Regions from separate parts of the Homo sapiens genome. Here all the other regions are linked to region 4. The links are contacts of gene promoters, found by promoter capture Hi-C in human tissues and cell types (Jung and others, 2019). All regions are on one chromosome and are shown on one strand. The core of a region is centred on a gene start or on the middle of the fragment in contact, and the rest is flanking DNA. Distances in the headings are between cores, read along the strand shown. Region 1 overlaps FCHSD2 (FCH and double SH3 domains 2). Region 2 overlaps FCHSD2 (FCH and double SH3 domains 2). Region 3 has its middle 28 kb from the start of CLPB. Region 4 holds the start of STARD10 (StAR related lipid transfer domain containing 10).

Region 1 (2,700 bases), core at 91-2,590, 330 kb after region 4:
AGTGAGCTGAGATTACGCCACTGCACTCCAGCCTGGGCAACAGAGTGAGACTCTGTCTCAAAAAAAAAAAAAGGAAACAATGGCCAGAAGTTTCCCAGGTTTCATGAAAAGCATCAACCATTGAATGATGAACCCCAAACAAGATAATTACAGACACTATACTAGTCACATTACACTCAAACTGTAGGAAACCAAAGATAAAGAGAAAAAAGCTATTAGAGCAAGGGAAAGCACATTCCATAGATGTGAACAAGTCTATAAGTAAGAGCTAACTTCTCATCAGAAATAATGAAAGCCAGAAGACACTGGAGTGACCAACTCAGAATTCTATATCCAGCAAAAATATCTTCCCAAAGTGAGGGTGAAATAAAGACATTTTCAGACATATGAAAGCTAAGAGAAGTGTCAAAAGCTGCAGAATTGCACCAGAAATGCTGAAGGAAGTTCCTTAAGCTGAAAGAAAATGATAACAGATGGAAACTCAAACCTGTATGTTGGTTTCAGGAAGGAAAGAAGAGTCAGGATTAGTAAATATAAGACTTTTTTCCTTCTCTTAATCTTTTTAAAAGATACCTGTTTAAAGAAAACTAACATTATATTACGAGGTTTATAAGCAGCACAAAGTCTGGGATGGAATAACTGTAATTAGACCATTGTAAGGTCGTATGTGGAATGGTACAATATTAACTCTAAGTAGACAGTGATAAATTAAGAATGCATGGTGTAGATCGAGTGTGGTGGCTCATGCCTATAATCCCAGCACTTTGGGAGGCCAAAGAAGGGGGACTGCTTGAGCTCCACAGTTCAATGATGCCTGGGAGACATAGTAAGACCCTGTCTCTACTAAGAATTTAAAAAATTAGCCAGGCATAGTGGCACACATCTGTAGTCTGAGCTACTCAGGAGGCTGAGGCAAGAGGACTGTTTGAGCTCAAGGGGTTAAGGCTGCAGTGAGCCATGACCGCACCACTATAACCTAGCCCAGACAACAGAGACCCTGTCTCAAGACAAAAAAAAACACAATGTCATATCTTAGAATGACCACTTTAAAAACAGAGGAATAGCTAACAAATGCAAAAAGAAAAAGAAAAAAGAAAGAAAGAAAATGGAATACTAACAATTTCAATTGATTCAATGTAACTAAGAAAAACTATTATATAAAACACTTCTTTTAGTAAAACAGAGCAAACCATTCTTCCATGGAGAGAGCTGGCTAATGCAAAACTACATTTCACAACAGAAACAATGTTTTAATTGATGGCTATGATATAAAACCTTTGGATAAAGGCAGCTAAAATGAAATTTGACATTAGGCAAGACTCTATCTAATATGTTTGCTTGTTTCAAGACAAAAGAATTCCACGGCCAGGTGCGGTGGCTCACACCTGTAATCCCAGCACTTTGGGAGGCCGAGGTGGGCGGATCACAAGGTCAGAAGTTCGAGACCAGGCTGGCCAACATGGTGAAATCCCATCTCTACTAAAAATACAAAAATTAGCCAGGCATAGTCATGGGTACCAGTAATCCCAGCTACTTGGGAGGCTGAGGCAGGAGAATCGCTTGAACCTGGGAGGCAGAGGTTGCAGTGAGCTGAGATCACGCCACTGCACTCCAGCCTGGGCAACAGGGCAAGATTCCATCTTAAAAAAAAAAAAAAAAAAAAAAAAAAAAAAATTCCACAATACAGAAAGAAAGGAATACAGTAGTACATAAAGCTTGTTTTCCCAACTTTGTGCTACAACCAACTGGAAACCAATCACTTTATGAAGAAAAGTTTGTAAATCAAGTATTCTTAATACTTGTACATATTAGAAATAAATTTTAAAGTCTATTAATAATGAAAATAGCTTCACTAAAAACTAATTAAAAGCCAAAAATGGCATTTTAGCATCAACTAATACGAACTTTTATAATATCTGTTAAATATCTGTTATGCTTAACAGACATGCAATAAAATGTTTACCAATATTACTGAATCATTAAATTTTAGTTTTGAGCATAATATTCACATAGTTTAAAATTCAAAATACACAAAAAAGAACATACAATAAAAAGCTTAGACTGGGTGCAGTGGCTCACGTCTGTAATCCCAGCACTTTGGGAGGCCAAGGCAGGTGGATCACTTGAGGTCAGAAGTCCAAGACCAGCCTGACCAACATGGCAAAACCCTATCTTTATGAAAAATAAAAAAATTTGCCGAGCATCGTGTTGCACACCTGTAATCCTAGCTACTCAGGAGGCCAAGGCACAAGAATTGCTGGAACACGGGAGGCAGAGGTTGCAGTGAGCCGAGATTGCACCACTGTGCTCCAGCCTGGGATGGAATAAGACTCTGTCTCAAAAGCAAACAACAAAAAGAGTCTCTGTCCCTTGCTCCCATCCTCCAATCACCAGTAAGAGGAAAAACAATTATCACTAAAATACAATCAGGAGACATATATAATATATACTCCAACTTGTTTCTGTGGAACCACAGACATGGTAACACTTTTCATAACACCAGAAATAACATTTTCTTATTAAATTGGGATTATTTCCAAGCTCACAAAACAGAAAACATCTGGATGACAAAGGATTCCCACATGAATGCCAAAAAGATCAAATGGAATGTTAAAACAAAGCACGATCAAGGAATATTGAAAGGACCTAACAAAATGAAATTAACAAAAATACCAGCTAAGGTTCCATAAATTACTCCCG
Region 2 (2,814 bases), core at 22-2,521, 290 kb after region 4:
GAGTGAGTTATAAGCATATTATTTAAAGATATAGAGGCTGGGCATGGTGGCTCACACCTGTAATCTCAGCACTTTCGGAGGCTGAGGTGGGCGGATGATCTGAGGTCAGCAGTTCAAAACCAGCCTGGACAACATTGTGAAACCCCATCTCTACTAAAAAGACAAAAATTAGCCAGGTGTGATGGCAGGCACCTGTAATCCCAGCTACTCAGGAAGCTGAGGCAGGAGAATCACTTGAACCCAGGAGGCGGAAGTTGCAGTGAGCCAAGACTGTACTACTGCACTCTAGTTTTTCCTGGGTGACAGAGCAAGACTCTGTCTCAAAAAAACAACAAAAATAAAATAAAATAAAATAAAATAAAGAAATAGAAATAATCACCAGGAGAACCAAAGTAGACATCCACTTTTAATCTTTGTGGAAAAAGACTGGGATTGGAGCAGAGGACTCACTTTTCATAAAATTTAATGTAGTATTTTACATTTTAAATAATAAACATGTCCTATTTACTTGATTAAAACTTTAAATCGACCAGGCACTGTGGCTCATGCCTGAAATCCCAACACTTTGGGAGGCCGAGGCAGGTGGATCACAAGGTCAAGAGATCGAGATCATCTTGCCCACTATGGTGAAACCCCAACTCTACTAAAAATACAAAAATTAGAAGGGCATGGTGGCACGCACCTGTAGTCCCAGCTATTCGGGAGGATGAGGTAGGAGAATTGCTTGAACTTGGGAGGTGGAGGGTGCAGTGAGCCAAGATGGCGCCACTGGACTCCAGCCTGGGTGACAGAGTGAGACTCCATCTCAATTAAATAAATAAATAAATCTTGTTACAGAAGACTGTATCATATAAAAATTTTGATTTTGTATTAAAAATTTTTAAAGCATATCATAGACTTTTTTTCTATTTTTTTTTTAGACAGGGTTTCACTCCCATTGCCCAGGCTGGAGTCCAATGGCACTATCTGAGCTCACTGCAATCTCCGGCTCCAGGGATCAAGCAACTCTCCTGCCTCAGCCTCCCCACTAGCTGGGATTACAAGCATGTGCCACTGCACTTGGCTAAAATAGCGTATCACAGACTTTCATCTCAATTTTATAAATATATATGTAGTGTACATGTATGAAAGTGTATTTGTAAAGGGCATCATAACTGTTGCTATTTCACAGGTTTGAAAGGATCAAACCAGATAACATATATAAAATACTCAGAGCATGGTACAAAGTAAGGATTCAATAAATGTCAGCTATCATTACTAGTATTTATTATACAGGCATAGAAAAAGCATTCAAGATCGGGCGCGGTGACTCACGCCTGTAATCCCAGCACTTAGGGAGGCTGAGGTGGGCGGATCACCTAAGGTCAGCAGTTCGAGACCAGCCTGGCCAACATGGCAAAATCCCGTCTCTACTAAAAATACAAAAATCGGCTGGGCGCGGTGGCTCATGCCTGTAATCCCAGCACTTTGGGAGGCCGAGGTAGGCGGATCACGTGGTCAAGAGATTGAGACCATCCTGGCCAACAGGGTGAAACCCAGTCTCTACTAAAAATACAAAAAATTAGCTGGGCGTGATGGCGTGTGCCTGTCATCCCAGCTACTCAGGAGGCTGAGGCAGGAGAATCGCTTGAATCTGGGAGGTGGAAGTTGCAGTGAGCCGAGATCGCACCACTGCACTCTAGCCTGGATCACAGAGTGAGACTTGTCCCAAAAAAAAAAAAAAAAAAAAAAAAAAAGAAAAGAAAAAGCATTCAACAGAAATATTAAAACTGATGCTATTCATTATGTAAAGCACCTGATACACAATAAGCACTCAACAACTACTGATTGAACCAATGAATTAATTAGTTCTGTCTAGCTTTCAAGGAATAGGTGATTTTCTTCTAAGATTATCAAATCAAAAATAAAGGCAAACAGCTACAAAATTAACTATAATGAAATCAGAATTTCATTAAAAAATCTGACAAAGCCTAAAAGAGTCATGCCCCAATCTCTCATTATTTATAATGAGAATAAAAACAGTAGCAGCAATAGTGGTTACCATGTAGAAAATTTACTGTATGTTAATTTTTCCTTCTAACAATCTCCCATATTTTAAAATTTTTGCTACAAAGACAACTTTTACAATTTGCAGAAGGAAATAACAATTTTAGAATACTCCCCCACATATAAAGTAATTGCTTAAAGGGTCAAAATTTTCAAACTGTATCAAATTATCTTTGTACATGAAAGAATAGTTATTAATTCTTATACAACCATAAAATGATACATCAACATAATTTTTTCTTGTCACATTTTGTAATCTGGACTCCACTAAAGGTCTAAGTAAAATTAAAGAAGGAAATGCTTCAATTTCCCTAGGAAAAGCTCCATGTCATCCACTAAAAGCATTATTACTCTTTATCAACACAGTCATAATGAGAACTAAATGCGTGATGAAAAATTAACCTTTCATAAACTGCAGAGAATGGGGCATATAAAGAAGAATAAATCAACAAACTTGTAAAAAGTATTATTATTCATACTTGTAAATACTTTACAAATATAGTAAATAATGTCTCCTCCAGGTTTACAACCTTCTTTATAATGATTCAAAGGCAGCAAAGTGGGGGATCAAAATGAGACAGAAATAACAAGAAAAGGGCTGGGCACAGTGGCTCATGCCTGTAATCCCAACACTTTGGGAGGCCAAGGCGGACGGATCATAAGGTCAAGAGATCGAGACCATCCCGGCCAACATGGTGAAACCCTGTCTCTACTAAAAATACAAAAATTAGCTGGGTGTGGTGGCACACACCTGTAGTCCCAGCTACT
Region 3 (2,700 bases), core at 159-2,658, 330 kb before region 4:
CGCCATTGCACTCCAGTCTGGGTGACAGAGCGAGACTCTGTCTCAAACAAAACAAAACAAAACAAAACAAAAAAGCAGTGCATGGTGGCTCACGCCTGTAATCCCAACACTTTGGGAGGCCGAGGAGGGTGGATCATGAGGTCAAGAGATTGAGACCATCCTGAACAACATAATGAAACCCCGTCTCTACTAAAAATACAAAAAATAGCTGGGCGTGGTGGCATGTGCCTGTAATCCCAGCTACTCGGGAGGCTGATGCAGGAGAATTGCTTGAACCAGAGAGTCAGAGGTTGCAGTGAGGTGAGATCATGCCACTGCACTCCAGCCTGGCAACAGACTTAAGACTCCATCTCAAAAAAAAAAAAGGCCGGGTGCGGTGGCTCACGCCTGTAATCCCAACACTTTGGGAGGCCGAGGAGGGTGGATCAAGAAGTCAAGAGATCAACACCATCCTGGCCAACATAATGAAACCCCATCTCTACTAAAAATACAAAAAATACCTAGGCATGGTGGCACGAGCCTGTAATCCCAGCTACTCGGGAGGCTGTGGCAGGAGAATTGCTTGAACCAGGGAGTCAGAGGTTGCAGTGAGCTGAGATCACGCCACTGCACTCCAGCCTGGCAACAGACTTGAGACTCTGTCTCAAAACCAAACCAAACAAAACAAAACAGAAAAAACTTTCCATGTTTGATGTGTGCCTTTCTAAGATTTTTTTCTCCCAAAACCTACTCCTAAATTTTATTTTCTGGGATATGACCAAAATGCCAGTGAATGACTCACGTAGTTTGGGCTGATCAATACAAAACTTTAATAATTTTGCTAGCTAGTGTGCACATTATCACTACTTTTTCTTTTTACTCGTATTTTTATCTTTTGAGGCAGAGTCTCACTGTGTTGCTCAGGTTGGAGTGCAGTGGCACGATCACTTCCCGGGCTCAAGTGATCCTCCTGCCTCAGCCTCCCAAGAAGCTGGGACTACCAGAGTGTGCCATTGTGCCAGGCCATCACTACCTTTCAGTTCCCTTTGTGAAGTCTTCCTTCTAACTATTTAGGATGCTGTGGACTCACAGTTCTTTCAATAGACTCAGTTCGTTCTGATTAACTGTGGTCATTTTTTCCCTCTCTGGAGTTTATGTGGTCACTCTTTGGCTACTCACAGCTCTGCTTTCTTGAATGACAGGGTGTTCCAGGCTGGGTATGAAATGCTTTCTACTTCAAAAGGTGGAATCAGTTTTTTTCCCCAGAATCTTAGTTCTTCTTCCAAGAGAAAAATATTAGAGCCAAAATTTGGGACCTAGGCTGGTGCCACTTATCAACCAGGAGAAGGCAGATCAATATCAGAGTTTTCTCAGGTCACTTTGATGACCTAGCATGCATTTTCTTTTTGTTTCTGCCCCACTCTCCCTTTCATGTAAGGAGTCATGAGTACATCGTATCATGCTCCAAGGTTGTTGTTACTTTTTTCTAATGTGAGATATTATTAAATATCCCTCCTTTTTTCAGCTGATAATTTTTCTATTTTCTCACCAACATTGATGTTAAACAACACTCAAACCAAGCCATGTTTTCATTAGTTTTATTCCCCCAATTTCTAAGTCTCCAATTCATTTTCTCTTTTAACCTCAGCTGAAGCATCCTCGGGCTGGCTACCAAGTGTGCACATCCAGATGATCTGACTGATAAGCATCAGTTGCACATCAATCATCCAAAAGGAAAAAGAAGTGCCAACCATCCTAGAGTAGCCTCAAAGCAAGTACCAAACGCTTATAAGGGCAGCATATAGACGAATACCATTGCTCACAGTTTCATTCCAATTTTTCCTCTAGTTTCCTCCAGCTGGACCTTACCATTTAAATCTATTTTCCTTCCCTTTGATTTTTTCCCCTTTTACTTGGTGCTCAAAAAAATTGTTTTTTTCTTCAGGATTGGAGGTCAAATAAATTTTGTTTTGTTTTTAGTGGTTTTAGAACTGAACTCCATTTTCTCAAAGGTCCTAGGGTACATATCTTTTACTCTCCTTACTTGTCTTCCCAATTTGCTTATAACATTGTTTGGGGTTCCTTTATTTGTTACTTCTGTAACTTTAAATGCTAACTTACACTTTTATTTCTTGTTTCATTGCCTATGGGCTGTTTCTTGACCTCAAGTTTTTAAGATATTGGTGCTCTTGTTCTTTATTTACTCTTCCTTTTATCTTCCACCTCTGTTTCTAGCATCTGTGCTTTTATGTTAACATTGTCAAGTTAAAAACACTGATATTGCTTGATGATACTGTCTTATAAAAATAAATAAAATAAAAACATTGATAGTCTCTTCTTTTGCCATAATACATTCTGTTCAATCTAAAAGTTAAAAATCAATATGTGAATACATACAATCTATATTAGTTAAGAATATTTTCATTGTATGCAAGACTATTTTCATTGTAAGCAAAAAGTGGATTGATAGGCTCATGCAATACAAAAGTCCCAGATTAGGGCTGGCTACAGGTGTAACTGAGACAGGAGCTTGTGAAACATAATCAGGACATGGATCCCCTCTGTCCTTTGGCTCTGCTCCCCAGTTTGTGTTGGTCTCATTCGCAGAGAGAGTGTCTCTCCCCTGTGGTTTTGATATGACTGTCGGCGACTTCTGGGGCAACATCATTCCACATTCATGTCCAGTAGGAAAGTGTGAAAATCTTTGCCTCAACTTTTCAT
Region 4 (2,700 bases), core at 166-2,665:
CTGGGGAGTGGCTCCTAGACCTCAGCTCAATGCGCATCACTTCCCCTTCTCATCAGCCAGGCCAGCCCAGGTATCACCTCCAGCTCCACTGCCCCCAGATGGAGTTACCTGAGTACCCAATTCCTCCCAAGCTCAGAAACAGTGTCCACTGCCTTCCCACTCCTTTCCATTCAGAGTCTGTCCCCTTAGTGCTGCCCCCTCATCTGTCACACCTGGGTTCTTTCCCTTACTTGGGCCACTGACCTGAGAAGCAGGGTCTGTACAGCTCCAGCAACACTCTCCTCTTCCTCCAGAATTCTCCAGATCCTCCTCAGCTTCTTGGCTCTGGTGCTCATCTCAACACAGCAGGGTCTTCCTCCATCAGGCCAAGGTGGGGGTAGGAGAAGAATTGGGAACAGGGACTCCCCTAGGTTCTCAGGGTACAGTCAGTCAATCTAAGCCTGTATCCAACAAAGACACTGACCCCTGGGGTACAAGGAAGGGCTCCAGGCCCAAAGGCAGGAGGATTAGGCTTTAGCTCTTGCTCACAGCCTGCTGAGACCTGGGGCAAGCCCCTGTCCCTCTTTGGGCCCTCAGGTTTGCAATTTGCAGAATGAGGAAATGGGTTCCTCAATCTACAATCACCTGACTATAATAATATTTTGCCTTTATATACCGCGTGGGTAAATTCCTGAAAGTAAACTAAGCTGTTTTCACCCCTGGATCTCATTTGATCCTCCCAACAGCCTGTTTGCATTTACAAATGAGAAAGCTCAGTTCCCTAAGGGAACAAAATTACCCAAAGTCACACAGCAAGCTGGAAGCAGAGCCTGGGTGCAGTCCTTGAATCCTGATCCTTCCCTGGTCCTTTACTCTCTATGATGCTGGAAATCTGCCTGACTTCCTCTAACCTGTTGTCCCATTTGTAAAAGGACTGTTGTGAGGACTGAATTAGGAGAGGCGATGAAGAGGGTCATTCCTTGTGAATCATAAAAGAAAGGACCACAGAACGATGACTGGACCGTTAGGTTACTATTTATTACGGTTATCTTCGCTCAGGCGCCCCCACGTGTCGATCCCGAGACTCTCGGCTTGCGCAGGCGCTCTTTGGTGTTTACAGCGGCCGCGAAGCCCCGCGTTTGCGCGTGCGCTTCCCGCCCGGGACCGCCCAGAGGTCCCGGACTAGGGGCGGACTAGGGGCCGCTCTGCCTCCCGCCCCCTAGTGGTTGTGGCCGCTCTGTCACCACGGCTCCCGGGGCCTCTGTCGGCTCCACTTTGGTTGAGACGTCTCCACAGCCCAACAACGGCGGCGATCTGAGGAGAGGCAGGAGAAAATACGGCGCGCTCGGCATCGTCCTTCTGACCGGGGACTCCAGCATCTCAGTCATCGCGTCACCAAGCCCCACGTGCAGGTTCTGGCATCCATCATGGCAAACTGGAGACCGCGGTGAATTCCACCGGAATGGCGCGCGCATTGCCACATGGGAACTGTAGTTCTTGGCTAGGACCTTTCTGGGGCTGGGCCGCTGGAAAAACTACATTTCTCAGGAGCTCAAGAGTCAGGCTGACAGAAAGGGGGCCCGCGGCATGTTGGGAGATGGAGTTTGGGGGGTTCGTGCTAGCAGGGAAACAGTGAAGCAATGGAGCCAAGTGTTCTGAGCCTGGGCCTGTGGGTTTGAGTTGGGCAGGAGTTACACAGTAGCTCTTATAAGAGAGGAGTAGCATTGTTGCGGCTTTTAGAAAGAATGCTACTTATTAGTTGTGTGATCTGAGCGATCAAGACAAATGCCCCTTTATCTTTTTTATTTATTTATTTTTTGAGACAGGGTCTCTGTCTGTCAGGCTGGAGTGCAGTGGCCCCAGAACTGCTGGCCTCCCGCCTCACCCTCCCAAAGTGCTGGGATTATAGGCGTGAGCCATCAGGCCTGGCCAGATGCCTTTTTATCAACTACGATGGACCTTAAGGTTAAGGTTAAGGAAACAAACGTTGCCTACCTCAGGGCTCAGCTGTCAGCTGGCATGGCAACTTCTTAAATTTCTACTGCTGCCAGAAAAACCACACTCTTACTAAACCCCTAGCAATAGGAGCTATCATGCAAATTGTCAGACTCTTCTTTACTGAGATTTACAACTCAGACCACTACAACGCTGATCGACAGAGGACAGGCCTTACAAACATTCTTTCCTGATAAGTAACTGCAGACCTCAGGCCAGTTTCAGCAAGCTCATAGAGACTGCACGCAAACTGTGTTTGTGTCCTATAGTCCACCTTATGATGCAAAGAACCAAATTCCACCTCACTTTAACGCAAAAACCCCATCCCAAAGTGAACATGGAACATATGTTACAGGTGTTTACCCATTGTGCATGCACTCACATCCCCTCATAAATATGTATAGCTTTTCCCCAAAACCTGCTGAATATGTATGATTATTGTGAAATACAGACCCTGTGAGTCATAAACCAGCCTAGGCCGGGAGTGGTGGCTCACGCCTGTAATCCCAGCACTTTGGGAGGCCAAGACGGGCGGATCACGAGGTCAGAAGATTGAGACCATCCTGGCTAACATGGTGAAACCCCGTCTCTACTAAAAATACAAAAAAATTAGCTGGGTGTGGTGGCGGGCGCCTGTAGTCCCAGCTACTCGGGAGGCTGAGGCAGGAGAATGGCATGAACCTGGGAGGTGGAGGTTGCAGTGAGCCGAGATCGCACCACTGCATT

The links. The method cuts DNA at HindIII sites, captures the fragments that hold promoters and counts their contacts. A contact is called where the count stands out against the background at its distance.
Region 1: a contact is called between a fragment that was not itself captured here and the fragment with the promoter of STARD10 in region 4, in 3 of the 25 tissues and cell types used here (dorsolateral prefrontal cortex, heart right ventricle and hippocampus).
Region 2: a contact is called between a fragment that was not itself captured here and the fragment with the promoter of STARD10 in region 4, in 4 of the 25 tissues and cell types used here (heart right ventricle, lymphoblastoid cells, mesendoderm cells and 1 more).
Region 3: a contact is called between a fragment that was not itself captured here and the fragment with the promoter of STARD10 in region 4, in 2 of the 25 tissues and cell types used here (mesendoderm cells and thymus).

What each region holds. Positions count from the first base shown.
Region 1 is chr11:73,124,697-73,127,396 of GRCh38, forward strand. All of the region lies in intron 2 of FCHSD2 (FCH and double SH3 domains 2), which reads right to left. Among named protein-coding and RNA genes, the nearest start is that of FCHSD2, 16 kb to the right of the region's middle. The HindIII fragment of the contact is 4,053 bases long and covers 1-2,700 here.
Region 2 is chr11:73,080,627-73,083,440 of GRCh38, forward strand. The region is part of intron 3 of FCHSD2 (FCH and double SH3 domains 2); the gene reads right to left. Among named protein-coding and RNA genes, the nearest start is that of FCHSD2, 60 kb to the right of the region's middle. The HindIII fragment of the contact is 7,146 bases long and covers 1-2,814 here.
Region 3 is chr11:72,461,328-72,464,027 of GRCh38, forward strand. No RefSeq gene overlaps it. Among named protein-coding and RNA genes, the nearest start is that of CLPB, 28 kb to the left of the region's middle. The HindIII fragment of the contact is 5,010 bases long and covers 1-2,700 here.
Region 4 is chr11:72,792,632-72,795,331 of GRCh38, forward strand. It overlaps STARD10 (StAR related lipid transfer domain containing 10), which reads right to left and starts at 1,416. Exons shown (of 7, transcript NM_006645.3): 1 at 244-1,416. RefSeq lists enhancers at 1-40, 1,172-1,741. The HindIII fragment of the contact is 19,379 bases long and covers 1-2,700 here.